3 separate regions of the Homo sapiens genome follow, and all the other regions are linked to region 2. Evidence: promoter capture Hi-C in 16 types of primary human blood cells and fetal thymus (Javierre and others, 2016). All regions are on one chromosome and are shown on one strand. The core of a region is centred on a gene start or on the middle of the fragment in contact, and the rest is flanking DNA. Distances in the headings are between cores, read along the strand shown.

Region 1 (4,055 bases), core at 694-3,193, 670 kb before region 2:
TGTGTTCACCTGTGTACACCCAGTGCCTGAAACACTGGCTAGCACTTAGGAGTCAATAAATGTTTGTTGAATTAATGAACTGTGAACTTTTTAGTCAATGGCAAACTAGGTTCTAAATCAGTTAAAGTGAGAACAGTAGTCATTCTTCTGTTGTATTTTTGTGAAACATCTAAACACGCTGTTACTGGTATAATCAAGCATTAAATATTCTGTTTTTTAGGGCCCGAAAGCCCTGAATAGGACTTCCTAGCATCAGATCTTCCTAGCACTATGCATATCAAGCTCAGTTACAGAAGGACAGGACTTACGGGCACTTTCTAATCAAAGGACTCCGAAAATGTAGGCACTATCTCTTAAAGTTCTTCAGAAAACAGTTTCAGATTCTACAAAAGATTTCCGAAGAATGTATCAACACCAAAAGGAAAATCATAACACTTCACTCTGATATCTGTCTGAGAGGCTAGAAGAGTGCTCCTTGATTTTTTTTAAACCAACAGCATATCAACAAAGAGGCCTTCTTTCCATTCTTTGCTTCAAATAATTTTTTCACATCCGTTATTGGTTTGTATTCGCCCTTAAACCAAAACTAAACAGATCACACTGTCTCATTTAGGACCCCCATACACAAAGAATCAGCTACGTAAAGATGAAAATCAGCACAAGCTGAACGTGTCACTGATGATTTGTGTGTCACACATAAATGGAGAAAAACATAAAAGAGCTATTGTCCAATTGTAGAAACAAAAAAGTAATATGGGGTTTTCTGTTCTCTGAAGTGCATCATGAAAAGTGGGTGGAGAGAAACACAGAAATCCAGAATTAGCCTAGCAAATCATTTTGGGAAGAGCTGACAACATGTAAATTCCTCACACATAAAGTATTTCGAGCAAGAGACCTTGATTCCTGGGCTATGATGCCATTCAGGATTCCTTGCAAAGGCTCTGGAATTCCAGTATTCATAAAAGAAAATGCTCATTATAATCGGAGCGTAAGAGGTACTCCCAACGTGACAGCCTGTATGAAGTATTACAAAGCTTACAGTTAAGATCTGGGATAGAGGCTGAACACCAAATTCAAAAGAGGTAACCAAGGCACTAAGTGCCATAAAGGAGGAAAGGGGAAGAAAAAAAAATCCACTATTGCCACTCAGCCACAGAGAATTAAAGTGGAAACCAGGGGTGTGCATGGGGGAGGATGAGGGGTGAGAAGTGCGGGGGGTGTGGTGGAGGAACAAACAATACATTTGTCACCCCGTCCCACTTCCTATAGAGGATACAGGCAAAGCCTCCAGCCTCATTACCTCGGACACAGATGGTTATCGTTTATAGCAAAGGTGCACAAAAAGGCCTTCAGGTCTGAGCCCCTTAATTCCAGGGCTGTTAATGATTAAAGAGAACGATGGGGGTGGGGAGGGAAATGAGGGCGGAGGGAGCTGGGAGATTCACCCACCACCTCCCCCTAGGGCTCCTACCTCACAGCGCTCACCCAGGACAGAGGACCAGAGTCTGCACCCCCTCCAGGGCAGCTCCAACCCCATATCCCCAGGCCCTGGGTTGAGGGGTGCTGGCGGTGGGGAGGCAGGGACAGTAGGTAAGTTTTCTGAGCCCTGCGGCTGACACGCCACAGGCTCCCCTCACAGCCTCTTCTTTCAGAGGTACCACTCCAGACAACGCGCTGACTTCCACTCCTCCCTTTCCACCCCCCTTTCTCGAAGGTACCCAACCCCCGCCCCTTCATCTCTCAATGCCCCCCCGCCTTTTCCTCAACTCCCCCCCTCCCCAAAACTCACAGCTGCTCCAGAGGTTCCTCCAGTCAAACCCTTTCTGGAAACGACGGCGGCCCGGCGGGTCCAAACCACCTACCATCCCCGCTCGCGTTTCCAGGCTCCCTACCCCCGCCGCCGCCGCCTCTTCTTCCACCACTGCCACCGCCTCCTCTTCATCTGCGGCCCACCGGCGGCGGCCGCCCCGAAGCCCCGCCCCCTCCATCGCCTCCTGCATCATCACTTCCGGTAACCCCGCCGGCCGCCAGCTCCAGGAGGGAGAATGGGAGAGGGGCAAGGAGGGAACGAGTGGAAGATTGCGTCACGACGCACATAAAGACGTACGAAGCCGTCGCCAAGTAAGGGCAAAGACCTAGCAACCCGGAGGGAGCTGGGCTGGACCATTTTTTTTTCTTGTTTTACGGGAATGGAGCGGGGAGGATAATGAAAGCGTAAAGGAAAAATAGGGGGAGGAGGAGCTCAGCTTATTGTTGGATGCGGCGGGAGATGGGTAGAGTCAGTCAGTCGAGACTCCCCCAGACCTGGAACTGGTGCTCCCACAGAGGTGGGCCCGGTGGTTTGGTCCGGCCTGGCCTACTGGACCAGCCTGTGCTCGGTCGGCCACGGCTCTGCTGGGCTCCTGGCGCCGCCTCCTCCCAGCCCGCCGCGGGCTGCGCGCTTCTGTGGGTGGGGGAAGGCAGGACTGACGCAGAGTGAGTGTAGGGGATGGAGGCGCCGACTCCAGGCGCGGGAGACTGGCGGGGAAGGGGTTGGCTCCCCACGGGCAGGGATGGTTTGGAGGTTGGGCTGCGGCGTTGCCGGGAGACGGGCCTGTGTGACCCCAGCTTCGCGGGGGCGGCTCGGTGTCATCGCCACCGGCCTCGGGGACCTGCCTCACGGAAGTGGCTCGCGCGTCCAAGAGGGGAGGCCTGGTGTGGGGACGCTCAGGTGCCGGCGTGGGGCCCCCTCGGAGGCTGTGAATCTTTTGGACCCCCGAATGTAAATGGGAGATGGTAGGGGCCGGTCCGGGGGCGAGAGGTGTCTGGCTGGGGAACGTTGACCCACACCAGGTCCCGTACAGGAACGGAGACTCCCTAGGACCGTGAGAGCCAGCTTCGTAATTCTCTTGCTCTTCAAACCTGAGAGTAGGGTGTTGCTCCGTTACCTTCCATTCGTGTGCAGGAGAGAGTTAAGTAAATCAATAAAGAAGGTATCAGCAAGTGAGAAATGCCCCCCAAAGACCGGATGAGGTGACAGAAGATGGGGGGAGGGCCCCTCGAAATCGGGTAAGGTCGTTCAAAGGAGGCCACGGTTTTGCGGGGATCCGAGACAATGGGTTTTCTGGGTGGAGAGAAGAGCCAATGAGAAGGACTTTTAGGTTGGAAACAGCCAGAAGGCCATGTGGCTGAAGCAAACAGAGCCAGGGCCGGAGTGCCCTGTGATGTAGTTGGGGAAGTGGCATGACTGTAGCAGCGCCTTTTAGCCCAAGGCAGGGGTTTGGCTAATGTGTACCTTAAGGGTTTTAAGAAGGGAAGTGACCTGACCTGATTTACATTTTTAAAAATCCGCTCTGCCTGCTGGATAGAGAAGGGTGGAAGTAGTTAGACCTGTTAGGAGACTGTTGCACTGTAAGACAAAGGAGAGGTGAAGATAGTGTTGAAAGGGCCGGCCGGGCGCGGTGGCTCACGCCTATAAACCCAGTACTTTGGGAGGCCTAGGCGGGCGGATCACGAGGTCAGGAGATCGAGATCATCCTGGCCAACATGGTGAAACCCCATCTCTACTAAAAATACAAAAATCAGCTGGGCGTAGTGGCACGCGCCTGTAATCTCTGCTACTCAGGAGAATCGCTTGAACCCGGGAGGTGGAGGTTGCAGTGAGCCAAGATCGCGCCACTTCACTCCAGCCTGGGCAACGGAGTGAGACTCCGTCTTAAGAAAAAAGAAAAGGCCCTCAGTCACAGTGGAAATGGAGAGAATTCCATTCAGCATATATTTGGGAGGTAGTGCTTGCAGGACTTGCTGGGGAATTGGATGTGAAGTGTGTAGGAGAGGGAGGAACCAAGGTTAACTCCCTACGGGAAAACAGTTTAGAAAGGAATATCGAAAGTTCTCTTTTGAACATATTAAGTTTGATAAGTCTATTAACAAGTCAAATGAAGTTGTCAAGAAGTTAGATATACAAGTCGGGGAAAAATCATAGTTGGAGATAATAAATAAGGAAGGCAGGGAGGAGCTCCCAGATCACCTAAGAAGAGCGTGTAAATAAAAGAGGAAGACCCCTAAATCCCTTG
Region 2 (3,503 bases), core at 672-3,171:
CCTAAAGATAGGATTCAAGGTGAGAGTATGATCATTTATATGGCCCTCTTCACCTCACAGAGCTGAATTTACCAATAATTTGGCAGGTATAAGCTAGGAAAATGAAGTAAAAGGGTCCAGACAGTAATATTTTAGAATTCTGTTACCTGCGGGTGGATACTTTCTTCTTTTGAGAATAGAAGATTAGGCTGGGTGCAGTGGCTCATGCCTGTAATCCCAGCACCTTAGAAGGCTGAGGCAGGCAGATCACTTGAGTCTAGGAGTTTGAGACCAGCCTGGGCATCATAGCAAGACCCCGTCTCTACTAAAAATACAAAAAAAAAAAAGTAGCTGGCTGTGGTGGTGTGTGCCTGTAATACCAACTACTCAGGAGGCTGAGGTAAGAGAATCACTTGAACCCAGGAGGTGGAGGTTGCAGTGAGCCAAGATTGTGCCACTGCACTCCAGCCTGAGTGACAGAGCAAGACTCTGTCAGAAAAAAGAAAGAAAAGAGAGAGAGAGAAAGGAAGAGGGGAAGGGAAGGAAGGGAAGGAAGGAAGAGAGAGAGGAAGGAAGGAAGAGAGAGAGAGGAAGGAAGGAAGGAAAAGGAAGGAAGGAAGGGAACAGAAGATTAGTTGAGCATAGTGGCTCAGTGCCTGTAATCCCAGCACTTTGGGAGGCCGAGGTAGGCAGATCATTTGAGCCTAGGAGTTCAAGACCAGCCTGGGAAACATGGCAAAATCCCATCTCTACAAAAAATAGAAAAATTAGCTGGGCATTGTGGCATGCATCTGTAGTCCCAGCTACTTGTGGGGCTGATGCAGGAGGGTCACTTGAGCCCAGGAGGCAGAGGTTGCAGTGAAGTATGATTATGCCACTGCACTCCAGCCTAGGTGGCAGAGTGAGACTCTGTCTCAAAAAAAAAAAAAAAAAAAAGAAGATTGTGAGCAAAAATTGAATGCAATTTTTTTCATAAGCAGAGGTGTAATGGTTATTATTACAAAAGATGATATTAAATTTATTTATGTATTATCTCTTTGCCTCCACCAGAATGTAAGCTTTGTTGAAGGCAAGGATCATTGTTGATTTATTTACTCTGTATCCCAGGCATCTAAAACAGTAAGTGTGCAATAAATATTTGTTGAATGAATCAAAGCATAAGCAAGGCTTCAGATTCATTTTTCTATCAGAGATTCATTTAAAAATGTTAAGGAAATGAGAGGTGAAGACATCCTAAAGGCATAATACTCAAAGTAGTCAGTAGGTTCATTGATAACCCAGAGGAAAATATATAATATTATAGAGGAAAAGAAATTCTCTGAAATCATGGCATCTCTCCTAGCTTGGGATAACATTTTAGCAGAAAGACCGAAGAACTCTTCCAAGAAACATCAAGCAATTAAATGAAGTAGTAGAAAAATCACCAGTACTTTAAAGTAGATGAAGCCATTAAAATAGTTGCAGCTTCAGTAATCACCATGTAAGCCTGTAAGTGGTGGGTCTTAGACCACAACATGGTAGTTATCAAATTGCTTTATTCATCGAAATGTTCATTCTCCTGGCTGCCCTTGAACTTCCAGCCTAAGGCTTTCTCTCTGCAGGGTTGTCAGCATGCTCATGCAAGGCTTTGCCTCTGCAGATTATCAGAGGTGTACTCCATGCCCCTCTCACCATGAAAAAAGGGAGAAAAAGACAATTTCGTCTCAGAGATAGAAAATCTCCCAGAGAGAACCCCTGGCAGCTGGAATCCATTTTTTTCCCCCTGAAGCTGGAATCTGTTATAACTACAGAACACTGAAGGATAATGAGGTTCTGCTGCTAAGCAAATGCTGGGACAAAAAGCACAGAGGTGCTGCAGCCAGGCAGAGACTGGGCTTTTCATGAAACCCTGTGTCTCTGAGCACATATTGCAATAATTCTCTGACTAGCTGCTCAAGGCCTTGGCTTCGTGGCTTTTTACTCCGTTTAAAGGTCTTGATCAGGCCACTTCCGTTTTTAATGTTTGAGAAATGTCTGATTTATGCTGCTTCAAAGTGGAACTTGGGTTTCTATTACCTTTTTGGCACCTTGCACCCATTGTTGGCCTAATTCTGCTGTCTCGTCTATCTTGTGGTTCCTATCAGTAAACAAAGTCCAGGAGAGGCGTCATGCTTGTGAACACCTCCAACATCAAGTTCAAAAGTACAATCATGACCTTGTCCTGTCGTTCTCAGAATCTGGGCTCAGCTATTTCAAACCTCCCATGTCTTCACTGGTAGTGGTCAATTAGAAATCACTGAATCCTTTCCCTAGAGTGGTCAGAGACAGCCAGTTTATGGTAATTTGGGCACAAGTGCCAATTGGAAAGGTGCATTATTCAAACCACTTTGGCTACAAGTGACAGAAATTCAATGCAGGTTAGCTTAAATAAAAAAGGAATTCGGGCTGGGAACAGTGGCTCATGCCTATAATCCCAGCATTTTGGGAGGCCGAGGCGGGTGGATCACCTAAGGTCAGAAGTTCTAAACCAGCCCGGGCAACACGGTGAAACCCTGCCTGTACTATAAATACAAAAAATTAGCCAGGCATGGTAGTGCACGCCTGTAGTCCCAGCTACTCTGGAGGCTGAGGCAGAAGAATCACTTGAACCCGGGAGGTGGAAGTTGCAGTGAGCCAAGATCACGCCACTGTACTCCAGCCTGGGCGACAGTGAGACTCTGTCTCAAAAAAAAAGAAAAAAAGAAAAAAAAGGGAATTTATTGGCTTCTGTAGCTGAAAAGTCAGGCAGATTTGGATCTCAAATTATGTCATTAACTAGTTTCTCTGACTTACCCTCTGCGTTGTGTATAAGCTTTTCATCGCATGGCAGCAAGATACCTCCATGTTCACATAGGGCTAACAGCCCAAGATGGTGAGGAAACATGCACTTTTGTTCCAGTAGCACAGAAAAAGTCCCCAGGTGGACGCTAATGGGCACTGTATGAGTCAAGTGCTCATGGCTGAGGCAGTAGTTGTACCTTGACACATGAAGTCCTCTGACCAGATCTGGGCATGTACCTGACCTTGGGGATGGAAGTGAGGCAGTCCAGCTCCACCAACTCGTAAGGACTGAGACAGTTTACTAGGGAAGAGGGGAAAGCGTGTTTCTTACAGGAAGAAATGCGGGCAGACAAAACACCATATACCCCTTAAATTAGGTTTTCCACAGATAATTGAGGTGGAGCAGAAGGGTAACCACATTTTGACAGCATCATCAGTATGTGGTGAGTGGCCCAGCATTTGACCCTGGCCTCTGTGGTCATCTCAGAGCCCAGAAAGTAGCAGCAGAAGAGCAGAGCATGGGTAGGTAACCATCAGTTCTTGGATAACTGAAGGGTGATCTTGAGGAGCAGTGAGTCTGTGGGATGGCCATGCCTAACAAATGTCATCCAGTTCAGAGCACCAAGGACATTCCCAGCTATGGCTTTTATCTTTTATCTTCTTCTTCTTCTGGTTTTGCTCTGTCACCCAGGCTGGAGTGTAGTGGCATGATCTCGGCTCACTGC
Region 3 (3,993 bases), core at 1,492-3,991, 760 kb before region 2:
GGCTACCAAACTAATGGTACTGGGCAACAATCTCATTATTTATTGTGACTGAGGGGAAATCGAACTGGACTTTGGCTTTACCTGCACAGGCCTCGAAAGTACATATTTGCAAATTAGGCTAATTTGTTGGTTTTGTTTTTGAGACAGGGTCTTGCTCTGTCACGTAGGTTGCAGTGCAGTGGTATGATCACCACTCACTACAGCCTTAATCTCCTGGGCTCAAGCAATCCTCCCACCACAGTCTCCTGACTAAGACTACAGATGCATGCCACCACGGCCCATTAGTTTTAATTTTTTTTTTTTTTTGAAGGCAGGGCCTCACTATGTTACCCAGGCTCATCTCGAACTCCTGAGCTCCAGCAATCCTCCCACCTCAGCCCCTCAAAGTGCTGGGATTACAGGCCTGAGCCACTGTGTCCAGCCAATTTACACTAATTTTATGTTACCCTTGTTTTACAGTAATACTGAGTAACTCATTTGAGTTCCTACAATCATTTGATTGTAGAGGTAAAAATGCACTGAAAATCTTATTTTTCCCCCTGCATTTTTTAAGCTCTTGCTATGTGTACAGTGCAGTTTTAAGAAGACAAGACAATGTAGGACATGGTTCAGTCTTCCAGTTTAAAAATCTGGGTAAAGAAACAAAAGATAGGGCCAGGTAAAGTGGCTCATGCCTGTAATCCCAGCACTTTGGGAGGCCAAGGCAGGTGGATTGCTTGAGCTCCGGAGTTCGAGACCAGCCTGAGCAACATGGTGAAACCCCGTCTCTACAAAAATTATAAAACCTAGCTGGGGCGTGATGGTGCATACCTGTAGTCCCAACTACTCAGGAGGCTAAGGTGGGAGGATTGCTTGAGCCCGGGAGGTGGAGACTGCAGTGAGCCGAGATCATGCCACTGCACTCCAGCATGGGCAACAGAGCGAGACCCTGTCTCAAAAAAATAAATAAATAAAATAAAATAAGAAAAAAAGAGAAGAGCTTACTGAGGTCTTAAGTGCAAGTAAAACAAACTACTTGGTATTAGCAGGTAGAGTTTTAACTAGGCAGACACCTCCTGTAGTTTTCTGTGTTTGCTAAGAGTGGGAAGTGCCAGGATTTGGGAATAATAAATATCATTTATTGACTGCTTACTACATAGCAGGTACTAAAATTAAACTAAGATGATGGCCTCCTTTAATCCTCAACAAGTGTAGTAGCTAGAAACTTTTCCTACCTATATTTTATGGATGAGAAAACTGATTCTTAATTTGCCAAAGAACATAGCTTTGGTATGTGAACCCAAGACTGTCCAATTCTGAAGCTCATGCTATTTGCTATTATATTACATCTTTCTAGTAATCAGAAATATGCACAGCGCATCCAGGAATCAGGGAGGACACAATAATTCATATTGTGAATTAAAAGGATCACTAGGCCAGGCACCGTGGCTCACACCTGTAACCCCAGCACTTTGGGAGGTTGAGGCGGGTGGATCACCTGAGGTCGGGAGTTCGAGAACAGTCTGACCAACATAGAGAAACCCCATTTCTACTAAAAATACAAAATTAGCTGGGTGTGGTGGTGCATGCCTGTAATCCCAGCTACTTGGGAGGCTGAGGCAGGAGAATGACTTGAACCCGGGAGGCAGAGGTTATGGTAAGCCGAGATCGCACCACTGCACTCTAGCCTAGGCAACAAAACTCCGTCTCAAAAAAAAAAAAAAAGATCACTAGAAAATGGGTTTGTAAAAAGTAGAGGTTCCTCTTCAAAGACTTCCTTCCCCGTCTAATTAGGAATAAATAGTAACTTCTCTTAGAGCAAAATTTATTCAAAGACCTGTGCTAACATTCTTAAATATCTGCTAGATATAATAAAGAAATCAATGTACTTTATGTTCTTAGCTCCCACAATTTAGCCTAAATATTTGCCCTGGCATGCTTATACTGGTCCAATCAAACATTAGGTCATAGCCTGTTCCTCTTCCTTACTTAAAAGTGTTTTTACCTTTCTCAGCATTCCACAAGTTACTTCCTTCTTCCTTTGTTCTCCTCTGCCTTTGCCTCTTTTAAAAAGTTCTATGTTGCTAGTCAGTCGGGACAAATACAGAATGTGAGGTCCCGTTCCAGCCAAAGGAAACCGGACACAGCAGTAGGGTGGACGCGCCACGTTATAAATGACCCTGTCTCCTTTGTTCAGTGTACTCTCCTGGCAAAACTGCTGGCGAGTGTACCCTTTCTGCAGGAAGTAAAAATGGCCTTACTAAATAAATTAAATTTAAGTTTAAGTTCTATTTCTTTACAGCACCGAGGAACGAGCATTTCGAACAGGTTGAACACCTTGACAGATTCAGTGTGTGGCCTGCCTGAGACCTCCAACCAGTCTGCAGGGCACTGTCACGTCCAGTCGTTTCCCAAGGCCTAAAATAGGCAGGCACTGGCTCAAGGCCACACAGTCAAGGCCCCAGGGTTCGTCCGCCTCGGGCTCCTGTCACCCTCGGGTAGAAGGTGGCCCAAGGCTGAAGACCGAGGTCCAGGGAGGCGCCTTTCCAACCGTGCCAGAGAGGGCAGGTCGCAGACGCCGGGGCTGCGGGGAATAGAGGCCCTCACCGCAGATGCCACCTGCCGTGCCCTGCTCTGCGGCCAACGCCAGCGCTGGACCCGGAGCTACCCGCCCCCGACCCGGAACTCCCTCGAGTACCGCGCGAGCCGCTTGGTCGCCATTCCCGACACTCCTTGCTTTTCCAAGTCCAGCTGCCGGAAGTCGCTCGACTTCTACTTCCGGTCCGTTCAAAAAGCCCGCGAGGCTGAGGGGCGGTTGTTGTTGGCAGCTGTGGCTAAGGAGGGGAGAACCTCTGCTCCCCGCCCGTCTTCTCTTCTGCGTTTCCCGGGCTAGGGGGCGTGGGGAGTGGTTTTAGGCGGCGAAGCCGCTCGGCAGCACCTTCCTTCTTTGCCAGGCAGACGCCCGTTGTAGCCGTTGGGGAACCGTTGAGAATCCGGTAACCGATGCGGACGGTAAAGCCGTTTGGGTTAGAGCGGCGCGGGTGTCCAGTCCGCGGAACGGGGAGATCGTTGGCACCTTCGCTTTTTTAGGGGAACGGGGATAGTTCGGTAAACTGAATTGAGAAGCGGATCCGAGGGAGGTTGAAAGCTGTCAAGCCCGTGTAGCTCTCCCGCTAGGAGGCGGCACGCGGGGGAATAGGGGCGCTGGAGTTTCCCCAGCTCTACCTCATCTTTCTCCACAGCCATGGAGCCAGAGAGGGAAGGGACCGAGAGACACCCCAGGAAGGTCAGGGAAAGCAGGCAGGCCCCAAATAAGCTGGTCGGGGCAGCTGAGGCGATGAAAGCCGGTTGGGATCTCGAGGAGAGTCAGCCCGAGGCCAAGGTGAGCAACGGGGATCCCGAGCAGGCGGCCCTAGGCGGTTTGGAGCTCCCGGACCCTCGCCCAACCGCCGTCGGGGGCACTGGATTCGGGCGGGCTCTCCGCCCTGGCCTCTCCGAACCTGATCCCTGATCATTAAAATGGGAATGAGTGTAATACCACCTTCCTGCAACAAGGCTGTCATTGGCTGTCACTGGGATAGTGAGTCGGCCGAGTGCGGTGGCTCATGCCTGTAATTCCAGCACTTTGGGAGGCCGAGGCGGGCGGATCACGAGGTCAGGAGTTCGAGACCAGCCTTGTCAACATGGAGAAATCCCCGTCTCTACCAAAAACACACACACAAAATTAGCCAGGCGTGGTAGTGGGTGACTGTAATCCCACCTACTTGGGAGGCTGAGGCAGGAGAATCGCTAGAACCCAGGAACCAGAGGTTGCAATGAGCCAAGACCACGCCATTACACTCCACCCTGGACAACAAGAAAGAAATCACGTCTCAGAAAAAAAAAAAAAAAAAAAAAAACTGGGATGGTGGGCCGGGTGCAGTGGCTCACGCCTGTAATCCCAGCAGTTTGGGAGGCCAAGGCGGGAGCATCATTTGAGGCCAGGAATTCAAGACCAGCCTGGGCAATATAGCA

Evidence for each region. The method cuts DNA at HindIII sites, captures the fragments that hold promoters and counts their contacts. A CHiCAGO score of 5 or more calls a contact.
Region 1: the fragment with the promoter of DCUN1D3 here is called in contact with a fragment that was not itself captured in region 2 in 2 of 17 cell types (neutrophils and naive B cells); the score reaches 7.2 in neutrophils.
Region 3: a contact is called between the fragment with the promoter of ERI2 here and a fragment that was not itself captured in region 2, in 3 of 17 cell types (naive B cells, naive CD8 T cells and total B cells). The highest score is 6.1, in naive B cells.

Annotation. Positions count from the first base shown.
Region 1 is chr16:20,898,415-20,902,469 of GRCh38, forward strand. It overlaps DCUN1D3 (defective in cullin neddylation 1 domain containing 3), which reads right to left and starts at 1,944. Exons shown (of 3, transcript NM_173475.4): 1 at 1,790-1,944. LYRM1 (LYR motif containing 1) reads left to right here and starts at 2,357. Exons shown (of 4, transcript NM_001128302.3): 1 at 2,357-2,475. RefSeq lists enhancers at 1,504-1,553, 1,763-2,548, 2,549-3,334. The HindIII fragment of the contact is 5,697 bases long and covers 1,033-4,055 here.
Region 2 is chr16:21,564,046-21,567,548 of GRCh38, forward strand. No RefSeq gene overlaps it. Among named protein-coding and RNA genes, the nearest start is that of METTL9, 34 kb to the right of the region's middle. The HindIII fragment of the contact is 1,772 bases long and covers 1,036-2,807 here.
Region 3 is chr16:20,803,731-20,807,723 of GRCh38, forward strand. It overlaps ERI2 (ERI1 exoribonuclease family member 2), which reads right to left and starts at 2,742. Exons shown (of 9, transcript NM_001142725.2): 1 at 2,678-2,742. The coding sequence starts at 2,700. It overlaps REXO5 (RNA exonuclease 5), which reads left to right and starts at 2,797. Exons shown (of 20, transcript NM_030941.3): 1 at 2,797-2,975; 2 at 3,222-3,361. The coding sequence starts at 3,224. RefSeq lists enhancers at 1,938-2,883, 2,632-2,741, 3,462-3,601. The HindIII fragment of the contact is 22,874 bases long and covers 1-3,993 here.